2 separate regions of the Homo sapiens genome follow, and region 2 is linked to region 1. Evidence: promoter capture Hi-C in 16 types of primary human blood cells and fetal thymus (Javierre and others, 2016). All regions are on one chromosome and are shown on one strand. The core of a region is centred on a gene start or on the middle of the fragment in contact, and the rest is flanking DNA. Distances in the headings are between cores, read along the strand shown.

The links. The method cuts DNA at HindIII sites, captures the fragments that hold promoters and counts their contacts. A CHiCAGO score of 5 or more calls a contact.
Region 2: a fragment that was not itself captured here is called in contact with the fragment with the promoter of SLC7A14 in region 1 in 1 of 17 cell types (endothelial precursors); the score reaches 5.6 in endothelial precursors.

What each region holds. Positions count from the first base shown.
Region 1 is chr3:170,583,397-170,588,051 of GRCh38, forward strand. SLC7A14 (solute carrier family 7 member 14) reads right to left here and starts at 2,679. Exons shown (of 8, transcript NM_020949.3): 1 at 2,515-2,679. The region is part of intron 2 of SLC7A14-AS1 (SLC7A14 antisense RNA 1); the gene reads left to right. RefSeq lists a silencer at 1,164-1,458. The HindIII fragment of the contact is 6,611 bases long and covers 1-3,066 here.
Region 2 is chr3:170,852,200-170,856,390 of GRCh38, forward strand. No RefSeq gene overlaps it. Among named protein-coding and RNA genes, the nearest start is that of RPL22L1, 16 kb to the right of the region's middle. The HindIII fragment of the contact is 892 bases long and covers 2,179-3,070 here.

The DNA of each region.
Region 1 (4,655 bases), core at 1,429-3,928:
TGTTTGTATTTTTGGCATGTTGTTTAATTTAGTTCACTGATGCTGACGTTTAGTCAAAGATAATCAAAGAAAGCAGTATGGAAGAGTATTTCAGACACCATGAAATAGTGGGAAAGGCCCTGGGCCTGGAATCAAGTTAACTGGGTTCTAATTTTTCAATCATGTGACTTAGACTAATGACCATCTTTTGGTTTCCAAGTTTTCTTTCTTGTAAAACGATGGTGCTAAATGATATTCAAAGCTATTCTAGTTCTAAAATTCAACAGTATAATTCTAAATATGAAAGTACATGTGGACTCTAGTTCTCCAGACTTCCTGAAGCCCTGCTACTCTTTTAGAAAAGGCTGCTGGTTTAGTTCTCTAACTTGTTTCCATAATATTGGAGCTGAAGTTGTGTGAACAGTGGTATCTCAAGCAGCATGCAAAAGCAGTTGGGAGGGTGGGAGTGCATGACAGTGAGTGGGTGAACGGATTAAAGAGAAAAGGGTTGGAAGAGAGGAGAGTGTGTGAAAGAGAAGAGCAGGCCTCCCTCCTTTGTCATTCTCCTGCTATAATCTCCAATAACAGCTATTCAGAGCCAAATACCAAAATGAAGGCATGAAAATGGCTTGGACTTTGAGTTAAATAGATCTGATTTTGAATCCAATCTCTGGAATCAAGTTTCTGTTTCCTTCTCTGTGTGATACTTTTGGTTGGCAGCTATTGTGAAGTTTAAATGAAATATTATTACCCAGCAGATAGAGGTGTTCAGTACAAATAGGCCTCCCCAAATTGGCTCAATCCTTTCCCCATCTTGCCCATAATATAAAAGACTAGCTAAAGAAACAAACATACAGGGCTGCTTAGCGATCTTTATCTAGAGCATGTAAATAACATGCAGTGGGGAAAGAAGGGTTCTAAGAAGAGGAAAAAGCTACAACCATGAAGCCCCTCCTTTGTGTAGCCTAACAATTCTCTGATTCCTGAAAGCCACAGAAATGTTTATTATCAAAACAGCATCCCTAACTGCCTTTCAACACTTTACCGACAGGAAGTCTCACTGCTCAGGTATAGGAAGTAGAACGAGGAAGCTCCCGAAGTTAGCAAAACTGGATCCTGAAGTGACACCCGCTTCCTGCTCTTCCACTCAGGAAAGCCGGGAACCTTTTCCCAAGCGGAGTCCTGGGGAAGCAGAAAACCGGGAAAGGCAAAGCCCCTTCTTCTCCTGTTTCTCTAGGTCGCTTGCTTAGAACCCTTTAGGGTTCTAACGCAGTTTCTGCTCGCAGGGAATGTGGGCCCTGGCGGTATTAGCACCCAGCCTCTGAGAACTTTCAGCACCGCGGACAGCGCCATTCCCTGCACTCAGTCGGAGGAGGAGAGCTACCTTGCCCCCAGCGCTCTCCTAGACCCTATACCTAGGGGGAGGCAGGGTGACATCCTGCGGCCCTTGGGCAATTCGGGCCAGTGACGTTCACCGACACTCAGGCGGGGATCCCTTCGCCAGAGCCAGTTCCTTTGAGTGTCTCCGCTCAAAATCTCAAGGAAACGAGCTTCACACAGGTGGGGGGATGAGGAGTGCCAGAACAGGAGCGAGCCCCGCTGCTCTAGCCTTCCTGCATCTCTTCTCGCCTTTGCTTTGCTCACTCTTCAATCGCAATATAAAATACTCATTTGGGGAGGGGGCAGGGTGACACAGGAGAGAGAAGGAGGGTGGGGGCTGCATCCCGCGTGGCCACGCAGCCCTAACCTGGCCCTCTTGGATTAGAGGGGAGCTGATGTGCTTTGGAATGGGAGAAGAGAGGAGACTGAGGGTTGAAGCAGTGCAGGAGAGCTCCCCTTGCTGGGGCTGCCGGCTCTGGGCAGGGAGCTTCCCTGGACACCGCTCCCGTCACGTCCTCTTCGCCGCTCCCGGGAGAGTCACCACTCTCCGGGGACAGACGCCCCTCGGGGCGCCACCATCCTGGTCGGGGTGCTGGGCTCGGCGGGAGTCCCTTTGAGGAGTTTGCTCCCAGGTAAAAGGGCAGACGTTGCTCCCGACCTCCCCGGAGTCTGCGGCCGGAAAAGCGTCTCCGTTTCATGGTCTCGGTCCGAGGCGGAGAACGGAGCTGCCCGTGCGGGGTGCGCGCCAAGGCGGGGGACAGGACGGGCCCGGCGTCTGCCGAGACCTAGGCTGCCCGCATTCCGCTCGCGGCTCCCCTTCTGCCTCCCGCTCTAGCGGCGCCGGAGCCGCGCTGGCCCCCGCCCCGCCCGGCAGCTCCCGCGAGTCAGAGCCCGGTGCCCCCAGACCGCGGGCAGTCGGGGCCTCATTCCGGGCCAGAGCAGGAAAGAGCCCGACCCACCTCCTCGGTTCTTCCAGGGAACCCCTTCTCGGAGGGCGCCCTGGGCCTCCGCGCCATATTCCTGGTCCCCCGCTCCCGGTGACTCCGGCTCCCTGGGTCATTCCGGGAGAGGCGGCCATCCCAGTTGCAGGGGTCCCGCTGGGGCGCGGGGGGCGCGGAGGGGGACAAACGGCAGCGAAGGGGGCCGTTCACTTACCGGGGTCGGGGCTGGAGGCGACGAGCTGGCTGCCAAGGCTGGTGGCTGGCAGTCCGCACTTACTGCGCGGAGCTGTCTCTCTAGCTGGGATGGGAAGTGGTGGTGGCGGCAAAGGAAGGCAGGAGGCAGCCGCTGCTGCTGAACAGCTCCTCAATTATTCAGATTGGGCCCCCACCCCCCGAACCCCTCCCCGTGCCTGCTCGTCCTCCCTCCAGCTCGCCTGTCTCCGCCTCCTTGGAGTCACATGGCCTGCCCAACCCCTTACATACTGGGCCCAAGCCTGGCACCAGACCACCTCCCACCTGGCCCCCCTGCCTTCCCCTCTGTCTGCCGCTCACAACTCCTCGCTGGCCTTCTGAGCCTCCAGTTGTGACCTCCAGTGTCTTATGTCAGGCTGCAGGGAGGTTGAGGGGGCCGTGGATGGGGGCAGTTCTTTGCCCTGGGAAAGCAGGGACCAGCAGGACTCTGCAATGTCTGTGCGTTGGGAAGGCATCTGCCGCAGCTCTGCCCCTGCTAGACTGGGCTGTCCAGACCTCCTTCCTGCCCTCTGGAAGCTTCCCTCATCCTCTGCGGAGCCTTCGTTGCTCTTAAACTTCCACATCCCTGAGCCCTACAGGAAAGAAAAAATGAGAGAGGTTGATTTCTCCTCTCCTCCTAAAGAAGACAAGACCCACCTCTGTCTTCAAAGCTTAAGTTTATCGTTGGGTTCACAACATCTTATGGGTGCAAAGATCATGGACTTGAGATTTGAAGAGCCATTAGGATTCCAATCTGTATGACCTTGGAGCATTTAACTTTCTAGCTTTTCTTCTCTCGTCTGTGAAATAACCACCTTGCAGTATTGTCATGAGATTGAGAAATCATCATGTTCTTAGAATTGCCTAGCCTAGAGTTGGACAGGTATTTGGAGCTCAATAAAGGAGAGTTCTTTTTCCCCCACCTTTGTTAAAATAAATTTCACAAGGCAAGAAGGATGTGATGTGTGCTAATACAGTGAAAGCATCTTTTAAACATGGAAGGAGGCATCTGTGAGGTCAGGCTAGACAAGTACCAGTCTAAACGGAGACAAGAGTGAGATAAGGTTTCTGTTTTGTATTAGCTCCTTTAAGATGAGTGTCCTAGAGCCAGGTTATGTCCCAAAAGGATTGGGACTAGATGGGACCAACCCAGGCATGCTTGGCCACATCACCGAATGAATTATTTAACAAGCATTGAGTAGACTGATTTGGATGAAAGTTATCTACATAAATTCTTGCACTTTGGCCCAAGCCCTCAAAACACATGGGAGGCAACAAAATGTAACTCTCCTATCCTTGGAAATGAATTCACTGGGCTTGTGTTTGGGGAGAATACTGGCTGACTGATACTCCTCTAGGGTGGAGCAGTTCAAATCTAGCTCTACTTTGTGGGTCTGCCCTGGGCTCTTCCCAGAAAGTTGCTTGATCATTGCCAGGACAGTCTTGGTTAGTCCACCTACCTCAAGCTTGTTACTGCCTTCGATGAGCATCTAAGCCTGACAATATCCCCATATTTTAAGCTTTGAGTAGTTCTGCAGGATATGTTAGACCTCCTGGGATCACCAAGAAGCTGTGAGACATTGTAGGAAAAGTGCAAAGTTAAAAAATCAGAAATTTGGAATCTCAGTGCAGGTTCTGCCAGCTACTTATCATATGATTTTTCACAAATCACTTAAATTGTCAGACTCTCATCTTCAGAATGGGAAAGGAATGTCTACCTGCCTTCTATATAAGATGGTTGTGATGTTTAGATGGGATAGCACATGAGAAGTCACTGTAAAAGGTAAAGAGTATGAATACTATGGGCTGAAGAAAACCCTGAGTCTATTCTAGTCCAAATGAATTATGAGGGTGATAAGATGGGAAGATGGGATTTGTCATGGAATATGCAGCTACTAAAATGTTGGTGTGTTGCTCTAAGTCTGCATGTATGCCTGTAGCTCAGGGGATGTGATTATTGGAGAACTGCATTCTTTGTTTCACCTTTTTCTGGATAAATTTCTGATTTAAATCTCCATATTTCCCTGGCCTTTTATTTCTGGAACACCAGCCACAATCACAATAGTTATGAATATTTACTATCTGAGAAAAGTTTGTGCCTATATTTCAAGACAGCAGGGTTTA
Region 2 (4,191 bases), core at 1,375-3,874, 270 kb after region 1:
AGAGAGAGAGAATAAAAATTAGCTGGGTTTCATGGCACATACTTGTAGTCCCAGCTACTTGGGAGGCTGGGGTGGGAAGATCCTTGAGTCCAGGAAGTGAAGGCTGCAGTGAACTGTGATCTGCACTCTAGCCTGAGTGAGACAGCGAGACCCTGTTTCAAAAAAAAAAAAAGAGAGACAGAAAGAGACATACTGCAGATGCTCATAAAAGTTCGCTGATTGATTAATCCAGCAGTCACGTGTTGTGTTTTCTATTTATAGTGTACTGTACTCGAAACCACTATTCCTGTCCTTAAGAAATAAGATTGAGTTGATAAATCAGCATGTGTTCAGGCAATAAACTCACATGCTTATTTAAAGCATATGGCAGTTTAAAAAAAAAATCCACTGTATGTGTTGTGGATTTATGGAGTGGCCTGTTGGGTTTCATGAGGAAAGCTCCAAAAGAGAGGTCAGCCTTGGAGTACATCAACAAGCATTCACAGCAAGTCAGACCTGGAAACACACACACACACACACACACACACACACACACACACACACACACACAGAGCGAGAGAGAGAGAGAGAGACAGAGAGAGAGAGAGAGAGAAACAGAAATCTGCTGGTTTAATCTCTTAATTTATAGAAAACAGGAAGCCTAAGGACAGGAAAGGATTCTTATAGCTGATGAGACCCAGACATTCCTGCTGGTAAGCTTAGTGCACTCCCTTAGTAGGTCCAATTCAAGATTATTTTTTTGTAGGTAAACTGTTTTGTTTTGTTTTCTCTTCCCTCTGGAAGCTTTTGGGATTTTCTTTTTATCCTTTGGAGTACTGAAACTTCTTCAGGAAGTTATGAGCTTTTCCCTTCATCCTACCTGGCCTACCTCGCAATATGAGGATCCAGATTTTCTTGGGCGGAGGGAAACTTTCTTCTGCTACTTGCATATCTGTCCTGGGTCACTTGTTTTAATTTGTTCATTCCAATCATTTTCTTTGATACTGTTGGTTCTACTCATTTTGAGTGAACCTTGGTTGCCTTTCTACATTTATGAATGAAAGGTAATGTTACTAATTATCTGACTTGGGATTCTTTTGTAGTTATATGGATTTGCTTACCCAGAAAGGCACACAGAGATAAATTTGACCTGGTTTTTAGCCTCGAAGTATTTACAGTCTAGTGAGGGAGGAAAACAAATAAACCAAAAATTCTGTCAAAGTGTCAGAATGTTTATGATATAGCTTAAACAAAAAGGCAGTGGTATTAGTTTGTGTACCAGGGAATTCCAAGGTGTGTACCTCCTCCAACTTCAATAGGCTGCCTCTGGCTTCTCTGGGGTTGGCCTTGAAATGAGCAGGGTCTGGGAGGCAAAAGGAAGGGACAGAAAAGGTCTGTCTCCACCACTACAGTTTGGTGATGTGGCTTTCTGGGCTTGAAGAAAGTTCAAGGCTTCTTCTTTCTCTTGAAGTATACATTTCTGGATTTCTCAAAGATTTATCACAGAGAATCTTTTGCTGCAACATTCGTGACATAAGCAATGCCATTTCTCAGGATCTTCACTCACTACCTGTAGCTCCTGAGCATGTGGTTGTCCCTTATACACAGACTCTTTCTGTTTGGGGTCCCACTTCTCTCCCAAGCAGTCCTCTTAGGTGAACAAGAACTCAACCCAAGCCTGGTCCTTCCCCGTGCACTACATCTGTGGACTACATCTGGTCCAGGGGAAGCACCTGTGCCTCCTTGTAGCTATGGAAATGTACCCCTCATTGCTCTCCCGTAGGCAAACTGCTCCAGCCACTGCCTTTGCCTTAGTTTTTCTCAAGGATGAGTCAAATGCCTAAAAGTCTTCAATTTCTCATGTGTCCTGGAAGTAGGAAATGAACTAAGTCTTAGAAAACTGGAGCTGGAGCACCTCCTTTGTAAGCTCTGCATAGATTTGGAATGTGGGAATATTTGGCACCTTAATTTTGTTCTCAGTTCTTGGAGTCTCAGCTGAAATAGGAGAGAAAAAGTCTCATTGGAAAAGTCTGTTTCATACCTCAATGAAAAGTACAGGGGTGATGAAATAAGGAATCTTCCATGCTGTTTCTTGAAGGCAGTAGGCCGTCTCCTGTGACTGGCCTTCTTACAATAAAACTGTGCGTCAGAGAGCCCTCTGTTAAGCCAGTTTGTGGTTCTCCAGAAGAGGAAAAAAGAAGCTTGGTTCTCTTCAAAAGCTAGATTATTCTTAGGCTTGGTTCTCCTAAGGAGCCAGCTGAATGTGCATCACTGTGAGAAAAGATTGCCTGGCAGGGAGAAATTTAGAAACATTTTTTTACACTAAAGCATTTACAGAGCATGAGCATTGAAGCCAGAGAGATCTGAATTTAAATTCCAATTTGGAACTTATTAGCTGTGTGGCCGTAGACCGACTGTTTAGCACTCTAAGCCCTTGGTTTTCTGATTTGTAAAAGGGGACTAATAACTAGCTTGAAGGGTAGCTGTGGAAATTAAATGAGATGTAGTATGTAAAGATTCCAAAACAGATGCCTTCGATGAGTAGTAGCCACTATCACCATTCCTCCTCAGCCTGGAATTCTCTCCCTCTTCTTCTCTGCCCCATCAATTCCCATTCTTCCTTAAAGAGAAGTCAGGGTAAGCCACCTCCTGCAGAAGGCCTTCTTGGATTCCTTTTCCCACTCATTATGGTATTGGTGCTTCTAAAGCATTTTGTAATATCTCTATTACTGCATGAACCACACTTACCTAAAGTCATTTGTACCCACATTTGCTCCCCTCGTTAGAACTGGGATTTCCTTGAGTGCAGAGAGTATATATAACTCACCCATCATCTCCCATGACTGCGACTGCCAAGGCAGAAATCATTGACCATATATTTGTGACATGTATGGAATCTGTAATTCACACCTCCCCATCTCAGAGAAAGAGGGAGAGAGGAGTTGCAGTGTTCCCTCCCTTGGGAGAAAACATATCTATTCCATCATAATTGAGATAGCAGATCATGATTCCCAGTTTGGCTCATTAACTCATAGGATTTTAGGACAGAAAAAAAAAGCCTTATCATGGGGGAAGTATGTTACTCTCAAGAAGCTTGTGTGTATCATGAGGTCAGGAGACCGAGACCATCCTGGCCAACCTGGTGAAACCCTATCTCTACTAAAATACAAAAAATTAGCCAGGTGTGGTGGTGTGGGCCTGTAATCCCAGCTACTCAGGAGGCTGAGGCAGGAGAATCGCTTGAACCTGGGAGGCGGAAGTTGCAGTGAGCCGAGATTGCGCCACTGCACCCCAGCCTGGCGACACAGCAAGACTCCGTCTCAAAAAAAAAAAAAAAAAAAAAAAAAAAAAGGTATATCCAATATTATGAGTTTATAGTGGGAAAATTATCCCAAAAATCTTACTTTGTTTTGTTTCAGAATAGAAAGCCCCAAAATACCTTGGTTGGTGGGGATATTTATGCATCAGTTATATCACAGGGTGGCAATTGGAACTGGGAACAAGGAACATGAGAAATATCTGTGTTTATCAAAAGGAAGCAGGTGTTACTAAAGCCCGAGAAATGCTGACCTATTTTTAACCACTTCTTTATATACAGAAGGGGAAACTGAGGCCCAGAGGGTGAAGAGATGTGTCCAAGGTCACAAAGCTAGTAGGCAACAGAGAGGCAGGATGTGTGACATGGCCCCGTGTGTGGGAGGAGCACTGGGTGAGGAGTGAGAGGTGGGTGCCATGGTGTGACCATGGGCAAGCCAGTAAACCTGAGACCTGGTTTTTTCATCTGAAAAATGGGAAGATAATATTGTGCCACAGAGGGCTGTTAAGGGATCAAAAGAAAAGAGAAAGCCATTTGTAAATGCAACACATTGTTTAAAACTGGCCTTCCTGGCATTTTAATCATCCAGCTTGTAAAAGAGCACACACTGAAGCTATATATCTAGACTCCAGTCCCTTCAGCATGACCACATACAAGGGTTTCCAGACAGTAAGTAGGAAAACCTATGCTAAGCAAAACTTCCTGGGAACTTTTTCATCAGGGGTAATGGTATAGGTGGGTAGTCACATGGGAAAAAGGTATAATTGGATCCACTTCTCAAATTGTAAACCAGGATAAATTCCAAATAGAATAGAGACCTACATTTTTTTAAGATGAAAATATGTAAGTACTAGCAGAAAACATAAATGAATTCTTGATAACGGGGAAAGCTTTTC